Regions from separate parts of the Homo sapiens genome. Here region 1 is linked to region 2. Evidence: promoter capture Hi-C in 16 types of primary human blood cells and fetal thymus (Javierre and others, 2016). All regions are on one chromosome and are shown on one strand. Each heading gives the region's core, a stretch centred on a gene start or on the middle of the fragment in contact. The rest is flanking DNA. Distances are from core to core; before and after follow the strand shown.

The links. Contacts are between HindIII fragments. The CHiCAGO score rates a contact against its expected background, and 5 or more counts as called.
Region 1: the fragment with the promoter of PPID here is called in contact with the fragment with the promoter of MAP9 in region 2 in 5 of 17 cell types (non-activated CD4 T cells, total B cells, total CD8 T cells and 2 more); the score reaches 10.1 in non-activated CD4 T cells.

What each region holds. Positions count from the first base shown.
Region 1 is chr4:158,720,601-158,724,993 of GRCh38, reverse strand. PPID (peptidylprolyl isomerase D) reads left to right here and starts at 1,598. Exons shown (of 10, transcript NM_005038.3): 1 at 1,598-1,790; 2 at 3,511-3,651. The coding sequence starts at 1,706. RefSeq lists enhancers at 1,020-1,604, 1,492-1,971, 1,605-2,188. The HindIII fragment of the contact is 3,604 bases long and covers 143-3,746 here.
Region 2 is chr4:155,375,425-155,380,161 of GRCh38, reverse strand. MAP9 (microtubule associated protein 9) reads left to right here and starts at 3,197. Exons shown (of 14, transcript NM_001039580.2): 1 at 3,197-3,391; 2 at 4,248-4,386. The coding sequence starts at 4,312. RefSeq lists an enhancer at 3,315-3,744. The HindIII fragment of the contact is 1,286 bases long and covers 2,421-3,706 here.

The DNA.
Region 1 (4,393 bases), core at 349-2,848, 3.3 Mb before region 2:
AAATGCTTACACATTATCTTTTTCCATTCTCATACCCTGTTCTTTGGCACTTTACCGAAAAGGAAATGAGAAGGGTTCAGAGAAATTAAATGACTTTTCTTTGGTAACATGCCTAGTATACATGTAGTCAGAACTTGAAGCTTTTGCTTTTTTTTTTTTCTTTTTTAACATCAACTTTCGTGCTTAGTCCAGTGTATAACATCACAGGCAAATTCAAATTGAGAATAGGAATCAGTTGTTCTTTAACCGTAACCCTTCTAACTTTTACTTATCCTAAGACCGGGTAGCAAGTAGGGCAGGAGCCTTCATCTAGAGGGATGGTGACAGCTCTGATAGGGGAAAATTAGCACTGGTCTTTCCTTCCAAAAAGCCACTCTGGCTGCTGCTGTTGACACAAGGCTCCTGGCTTTTGAGACATTATTTGAGTGCTGGATTCCAATACTTTTTACTTTCTCATAAGAAAAAAAAATGTGAAGCATCTAAGGATATCTCCTGCCTTATTGATAAAGTAAGCCTCAGGCTGAATCCAAATTGCTGAGCTCCAATAGAACTACAGGGCAAAGCATCTACACAGGGAATTGCCACTCTTCTCCAAAATTAGGCTTTATTAAGAGGCAAGGCTATGTTCTCCTCATATATATGTGTGTGTGTGTGTGTGTGTGTGTGTGTGTGTGTGTGTGTAAAAAGTAAATGTTTTACACAGATCCCCATAAGGGAAAAGTGGGCTATAGTAATACAGTATTTTTTTGTTTTTCTTTTTTTTGGGGGGGGGGGGGACAGTTTCGCTCTGTCACCCAGTCTGGAGTACAGTGGCGCGATCTCGGTTCACTGCAACCGCCGCCTCCCGGGTTCAAGCGATTCTCCTGCCTCAGCCTCCCGAGTAGCTGGGACTACAGGCAAGCACCACCACGCCCGGGTGATTTTTTTTTTTTTTATTTTTAGTAGAGACGGGTTTCATCATGTTGGTCAGGCTGGTCTCGAACTCCTGACCTCAAATGATCCGCCCGCCTCGGCCTCCCAATGTGCTGGGACTACAGGCGTGAGCCACCGCGCCCCGCCAAATACAGTTTTATCAGGAATCAAAACTGTGCTCTCTTCTGGACTCTCAGCTTTAGCTGTTTGGAGCGTTTAGTCTAAGCCTTACCACTTACATTGTAATGTGAAGATCAAATTGTAACGACATGGCAATAATAAGGCTCCTATTGGTTGGGTACCACCAGTTTATGCCAGGCATTGTACTGATTCATGTCTTTAATCCTCAAAACGACCTTCCGAGGTCAGCGTTTTTATTCTTTTTCCAGAGGAGCAAACTGAGTTTCTGAGAAGTCACACCCAACTTGGTGGCAGAGCTGACGCTGGCATGGGGTTGACTCCAAAGCTCTCTACGCCACGAGGGTGGGAAAGACAACGAAACACAAGCGAGAAGAATAATGAGAACTGGGATCGCAACTTCATTAAATGAGAAGCCAGGAACAGGTGGCGGAGGGCACGCGGTTCGCTGCACGGAGTCGCTCAGGCTCTTTGAAACACCGCGCGGGGGAGCGGGGCGGTGCCGGAAGTCAGGCCATGGCTTCCGGTTCTTGCGTCGGAAGTGGCCGGTCAGCGTCGCTGCCGGTCTCCGGCGGAGACGGACTCTGGAGTTTGGGCGGCCCGGGCGGCCACTAGGTACTCTGATATTCCGTACTAAACACGTCTGCAAGTCAAGATGTCGCACCCGTCCCCCCAAGCCAAGCCCTCCAACCCCAGTAACCCTCGAGTCTTCTTTGACGTGGACATCGGAGGGGAGCGAGGTGAGCGGAGTCTGACGCTCGCGGAAAAGCCCCGAGGAGGCGGGGGTTCCCGGGATTTGGGGGATTCCAAGGGCGGAATGCGGCTCCGGCCGGTGACTGCTCAGTTTCGCGGAGGGGATGGCTGCCTAGGCTGGTCCGCCGGAGCAGGCCCGGAGATCTAGGGCTAGATCGATCCAGCGCCCTTGTATCAATGCCATCGGTGGTGCGGAAGTTTCTGGAAATTTCTAGTTCGGGAATTGTGGCGTCCTTTAGGTTTGCCTCCTGATTTGGTGGCACTTCCACGCCACCTTTGCACTACCAAGTTAGCATGAAATATTTTATGTTTGCAATGGGACAGTTCGGAAAGCATATCCTGGGATATGCGTCTGCTGGGCCCCAGGAAACTATATTTGCCACATGAGATAATATATCAGCACGTGCTGTGTTATTTATACGTTAAAGGGACTTGTTTGCTCATTGCTTTTGCCTTATTACTGATTCTTAATTTAGAGGTCCGTTCAGATGAGCAAACATTTTCTCTTAATTTGCCATTGGGAAAATGCGCTCAACGTAGTGATGGTGTTGCCTAGGTTACATAGCCGCTCAGAAGTTCCTAAGGCCTGGTGAATTAGGGAGCGTGTTGCTTTGTAACTGGATTGGCCTTGTTCTGGAACACGTTGGAATTGCTGGCCAGGCAATGTGTTTGAATGCATGTACAGGACACACACACGTTTACACGTACATTCAGTTTGTTGCAACTAGCTAGGGCTAGGTTTAATCTCACCTGTCTTAGCTGCTATCTAGAGGAGGAATTTTTACAGCTTTTGCTTCAGAGGTTGCATGAGGCAGTTTGCTCAGAGCACAAAGGCTGCAGGTATACGTAACACGTGGCAAGTCCGCCCACCCAAAGACTGTTTAATTTTCTCCCGTTGGTTGCTTGGTGATTGGAAATTCTCAGTACCTCTTGAAGAAATTACTCAGGATTTAAAACTATTTGTATTTAATGATATCTCTTACATGGTGCTAATCTTTTGGCTACTATAATTGGTTATGATCCTTAGTGTAATGTTTCAAATCTGTTTATATACATACATGACAGTAGGTAGACTAAATTTGAATATTAGAATAAAATAAGATTCACTAATTCTAGTGAGTATATTCAAAGGAAATGAAGTTTGTATGTCAAAGAGGTATCTGCACTCCCATGTTCATTGCAGCATTATTCATGATAGCCAAGATAATGGAATCAAACTAGGTTTCCATCTACAGATGGATTTTTTTTAAAATTTGATATATGTGCACAGTGGAGTACTATTCACCCATAAAAAATAATGAAATCTTGTCACTTCTGACAACATGAATTAATATGGAGGACATTATGTTACATGAAATAAGCTGGGCACAGGAAGACAAGGCATGATCTCACTTACATGTGGTTTCTAAAAAGTTGACCTTGAAGTAGAGAATGGAATGGTGGATTTCAGGGGTTGGGTAGATGTTGATCACGAGAGACCTAATTTCAGTTAGAAAGGGGGAATAAATTTAAGAGATCTATTGTATAACATAATGACTATAGTTAGTAGCAATGTGTTGTGTTCTTGAAATTGCAAAAAAGAAAAATTACAGTAAAGGGGAACTTGGTAATTCATGATTGATCTGCTACCATAATTATACCAACCTTCTTTTTATCATTTGTCTATTTGGTTGTTTTGCATACTGACAAGATTTTCTTTTCTTTTAGTTGGTCGAATTGTCTTAGAATTGTTTGCAGATATCGTACCCAAAACTGCGGAAAATTTTCGTGCACTGTGTACAGGAGAAAAAGGCATTGGACACACGACTGGGAAACCTCTCCATTTCAAAGGATGCCCTTTTCATCGAAGTATGTGTAAATTTTCTTAATCTTGTTATTCTTCATACAGACAAGTCCTGTTCTTTAGGATTTGGGGAAGAAAACACTAAGTAGGAAGTGAAGCTTAAAAAGTACTATTAGCGTCCATGTCTGAGGCAGTAACGCAGTTTCGTAAAGGTTAGGCTGTGCGAGGTGGAATTACTTATGGTACTAAGGTTTATCTATAGAGAAATGGACTCCCCTAGCTTTACCCATCCTCTCATTCTCCTTCACTCTAAGATGATTTGATTGAGAAAGGAAGGCCGTAGTCAACCAACCTTAGGTAGCTTCATTGCCTGGTGACAAAAAAGTTATGCATAGACCGGGCGCAGTGGCTCACGCCTGTAATCCCAGCACTTTGGGAGGCTGAGGCGGGTGAATCACGAGATCAGGAGATCGAGACCATCTTGGCTAACGCGGTGAAACCCCGTCTCTACTAAAAATACAAAAAATAAGCCGGGTGTGATGGTGGGCGCCTGTAGTCCCAGCTACTCGGGAGGCTGAGGCAGTAGAATGGCATGAACTCAGAAGGTGGAGCTTGCAGTGAGCCGAGATCACGCCACTGCACTCCATCCTGGGCGACAGAGTGAGACTCTGCCTCAAACAAACAAACAAACAAACAAACAAACAAAAAAATGCATAATTTTTGGGCCTGAGTGCTTGGGAAGGCAGCAGATTTGAAGATTCAGTGTTTTGGGCACATGGGTGATAGTGTGGTCAAAATATGCCATTT
Region 2 (4,737 bases), core at 1,948-4,447:
ATTTTATACCTTAGTAGATTTTTGCCTTTTGCTCACATTGATTAGGCTACAGAATATTTTAGAGCAAAGGCGAAGAACTTTTTCTCCTGGAAGCTGCCAAGGGTGGTGTTCAATTTTGAACACGGCACAACCAGAAAACAAATTGAATTTTTGTTTTTCTTCTGTTAACTAAAACTCTTTATTGACTACCAGAAATGATTATTCATTGCAATTTAACAAGTATTTGTGTTCCTCTTGTGTGCCACAAAATTTGCCTAGGTACTGTGAGTGTAAAGATGAAACAGATAAGATTACTATTCTTGTTGAGGCTCAGTCTAGTCATTGTTTTTTAAACAGAATAGAACATATCAGAGTGGGACACCGTAAGGGAAAGAATGATTTGATGAAGTTATTTCACATACTGTGTGTGTATATACATGTACAAAATGTTTCTTATTGTAGGTCTTGTTCAAAAAAGTTTGATAGCCATTACTCTAGTGCGGTGGTTTTCAATTGAGGTGATTTTGTCCTTCAGAGGATATTTGACAATGTCTAGAGATATTTTTGATTGTCACAGCTTGGAGGGTGCTACTGGCATCTAGTGGGGTGGAGAGTGGGATGCTGCTGACCATTCTACTATGCACAGGACAGCCCCCACAGCAAAGAATGATTCTGCTCAAACTGTCAATTTTGAGAAACTGCTGCTGTTAAGAAACTGATTCTAGTGGAAGAGACAGGCACGTAAACACATGAAAGAGAATAGGGACGGGAATTAGAGGGAAGGTGGAAGGTGAGCTTGGTAAGGAGAGGGAAAGCGGGGGAACCACAGTTACTGACTCACCAGCTCTACTGGGCACTGTCCTGAGTGGGGAAATAATTTTATCATATGTATTTGTGCAAAGTATTGTATGAAATCTTTAAAATGGCACTGGAAGGGGTTGGTATTATCCCAACCTATGAATGCACAAACTGGGGTTAGGAGTGTCTAAGTAACATACCTGAGGTCACACAGAAAGTTGCGAGCTGGGGCCGGGCATGGTGGCTCATGGCTGTAATCCCAGCACTTGGGGAGATGGAGGCAGGAGGATCGCTTGAGCCCAGTAGTGGGCAAAAAAAGTGAGATCCTGTCTCTAAAAATAAAATAAAATTGTAAGCTGGGATTGATGCACTATTACTCTGAAATACGTTGGGTCAAAGAATTTGGATGATCAATGGACAAGTTTTGTGTCCCAGAGGAATGATGAAGTGAGAAAGTTGAAAGTGCTGAAGAAAGAACTCCATAAGCTACATTGTGGGACTTGGGCTAGCTAGGAAAGGGAAGCAGGAAGCAAAGAGAGCAACTGATAAATTGGGGGAAGATGTGAAAAGCTCAAGAGTCTGGACATCTTAGATGAGATACATGCATTAAAAAAAAAAGAAAGAAAGAAAAAGTAAAAAAAAAAAAAAAGAGTCTAGATGTCTTGATGAGTTCCTAAATAGAAATAACAAGAGAAGAATAACTAAAAAAGGAAGCCATGGGCCTTTTGGAGTGGAGTATTACAGTTTAAGACTTCCAGTACGGAGCCCCACAATTAGGGGTATGGACAAGTGAAAGTCTTGGAGTATTGAGCAAAGAATTCTATTGAATGGAACATGGCCACACCATACCTTGGTGTGATCTCAGGTATTGGATAGGTTGGCTGTAGATATTCAGTGAATGTGGGAGAAGGGCCTATATATCTATTGATGACAGAAACTGAGAAATAGAACATAGAATATTGGCTTGTGAGGAGGAAGGGTTTGGAGTAATAGGAGAGCAGTCACTGAGTATGTGAGGACCTAGGAGAACTTAGAAATCTTCCTTCTACAGCAGTCCCTATTTGAAAAGCCCTCAGGGAGATAGTTTATTCAGAAAATAGTTTTGCTTAGCTAAGATAAGAATGCGATTATAGAGGAAAAAGTGAGAGAATGTTTTACAGTGGAAAGGAGGTTCCAGGAGCATGAGGTGAACCTGGAAGGGTTCAACAGTAGTGCCATGAGTTAATAGAAAATAGGGAGCATTTTCTATTCTGGGTATGTGTGTGTAGAGGTGGTGTACATTTTCAGCTTCATAAATGGATACAGATGAGTGGACATATATATATAATATATTATATAATATATATTATATATATAATATATTATATAATATATATAATATAATATATATATACTATTAGTTCTGTCCATCTAGAGAACCCTGATTAATACAGCATTGTATTTTACTAAATTTCTTATTTCTTGTTATGCACATTTAGTTTTTCAATACATTGATTTATTAAATTTCTATCTCAATGTGATTTGTTTATACAAAATTGAATTAGTGAAATATTAACATATTTTAGAGATGTGGAAAAAATACCAGGTATGAGTTTAATTACTAGTCAATGAATTCATTCAGATAATTCAACTAGGATTAAGCTTTTTAAAAATTAAAAATAGTAAAAATTCATATTATTTTAAAGACTTTCAATAAACGTTTTTGGTTTTTATTTGCTTTAAGAATTTCCTATGCGAATTAAATGATGTTGATTTTGTTTACTTTAGTAGCACATGCTCTTTTAGCCTAGTGGATCATTTTGTTTGGTTTGATTGGAATAAGATTACTCACTAAGTATACAAAGAGGGGGAGTTTTACATTCAAGTAAGATGTCAAATGGGCTTTCAGTTGTGTCCACAAGAGCTGAGGTCTCTCCAGGCCCTTTGCGGCTTAGTTGCATGAAGAGCATATCTAATATCGAATACAATTCCAGGCACTCTTCCAAGTGTTCCACTTGTATTATTTCATTCAATTTTACAGCAACCTTTCAGGTGTCTATTATTAGTACACTTTTGTTTTCCCCCAGAAGAAGAAACTGAGTCATAAAGACCTTAACTTGGGACAATCACGTGTGTAGGAAAGGGGTACCAGGATTCAAACCTGCAGTCGGAAACAGGGTTCTGCAAACTCACTACCGTACTATTCTGTCCCATCCACTGACACCGTACTTCGATTCAGAGAACTTCACGTCCTAACTGTGGCAAAACGACGAATGTGCTTTATTTGCAACACGTGCAGATAAGGACCCTTACTCTATTGGCAAGAGTAAGGCTATCTGGGTGGGAGTTGGGCGGGTCCTGTCTCCTAGGCAACAGCACATGCACACAAGCGACCAATAATGAGCCCCTCTCCAAAGACCCAGGAAGGTGATGTCACTTCCTTCGTCTGGGTGGTTGCCCCAGCGACACGTTGGGCCGAAGAGCGGTGTTGGGTACCCGAGAGACCCGGCGGTGGGGAAGTCACTTCCTCCCGAAGACGCTGTTTCCTAGCAACCGCCCTCCGCCTCTGTTATTAGCCCCTCCTCCTCGCTCGGTCCAGGACCGGCTCTGCGGGCGCCGCCAGGCCCAGACCAAGGTGAGCAGCTCCTACCCGATGCTTGGCTCTTGATTCTCAGGGTCGCGGAGAACTGGCCGCGGGCGTCCGGGGCCGGGAACAGAAAGCGGGACCTGGGGGCCATGGGGGATCCGGACAGAGACCGCGCTTGGACGTGCACGGGCCTGGCGTTCGCTGGTGCTCAGCATACGGCGCGGTGAGGAGCGGCGAGCACCCGGACGTCACCTGGCCTGGTAGGGAACGGAACCCGGGGCGCACAACGCTATGGGCGGCCCTGCCAGGCCTCTGCTCCGAGTACGGGAAACCGCGATTTTAATGCGGCTCATCGCGAAAGCTTCGTCGTTTTGTCTGGCTCTCTTTAACACTTTTGTGAGAGGAAAAATTGGCTTGCAATACATCTCGCTGGCTGTTTGCGGGTTAGCATTACGATCTTTTTCTTTGAATAGCGCTGTATGCAAATATATAGATACATTTTTTTTTTGGTGGTGGTGCTCATAATTTTTACGCCGACGATCCTTTTGATGGCCTTTTAAATAAGACGTGACTTATTTTGAAGGCAATGTTATACTTTAGAAGAGAGGTGAAAAATAAGGTGTTCTATTTTAATTGGCAGCATTTTGTCGTATTAACTTGTAATCATTTATTTGCAGACTTTTTAAGTAGTTGCAAAACTATTTTAGGATAACTTCCATTTGAATTTTTTTAAACAAGCTTGTTATGAGAATTTGCTATTTCTTTACAAGAACCTTTTTAAGTGAAGATGTAGCCCAATGTTCATATCAGATGCTTTTCTTTGACCTTTGTGGGGAGAGTAGAATCAAATGTAATAAAATAAATTCTGAAGCATGCGAAGTCTGATTTGTTTTGTATATTTCAGCTACTATCAGAAGTTGAATTCTAATAATTAGCTATTTTATAAAGGTAACGAGAAAAAATACACTATGTCTGATGAAGTTTTTAGCACCACTTTGGCATATACAAAGAGTCCAAAAGTTACCAAAAGAACTACTTTCCAGGTAAAGTATTTTTATTTGGAATCATTTCACAGTGTAAACACTGTATTAGATGGGTTGAAATTGGTGATTCTAGAACAGTCCTATATAAAGCAGGGGTAAATCTTATATTACTTTTGAGGTTTTGCACATGATCATGTTTGGGCTCCATCCAGTATTACAAACTCCCCTATATGGTTTTAAGACTACCAAAGTAGCCTCAATACTAGTTTCCTACTAAGTTAAAAGTTGAATCGCAACCTTAAATTGCCATTTTTATATAAAAACTTTTTTTTCTGTTGTAACATAATGTTTAAGTTTTTTTTTCTGTTGAGTCACTGCAATTTTGAACTCAGCCTCTAAGTTTGCAATATT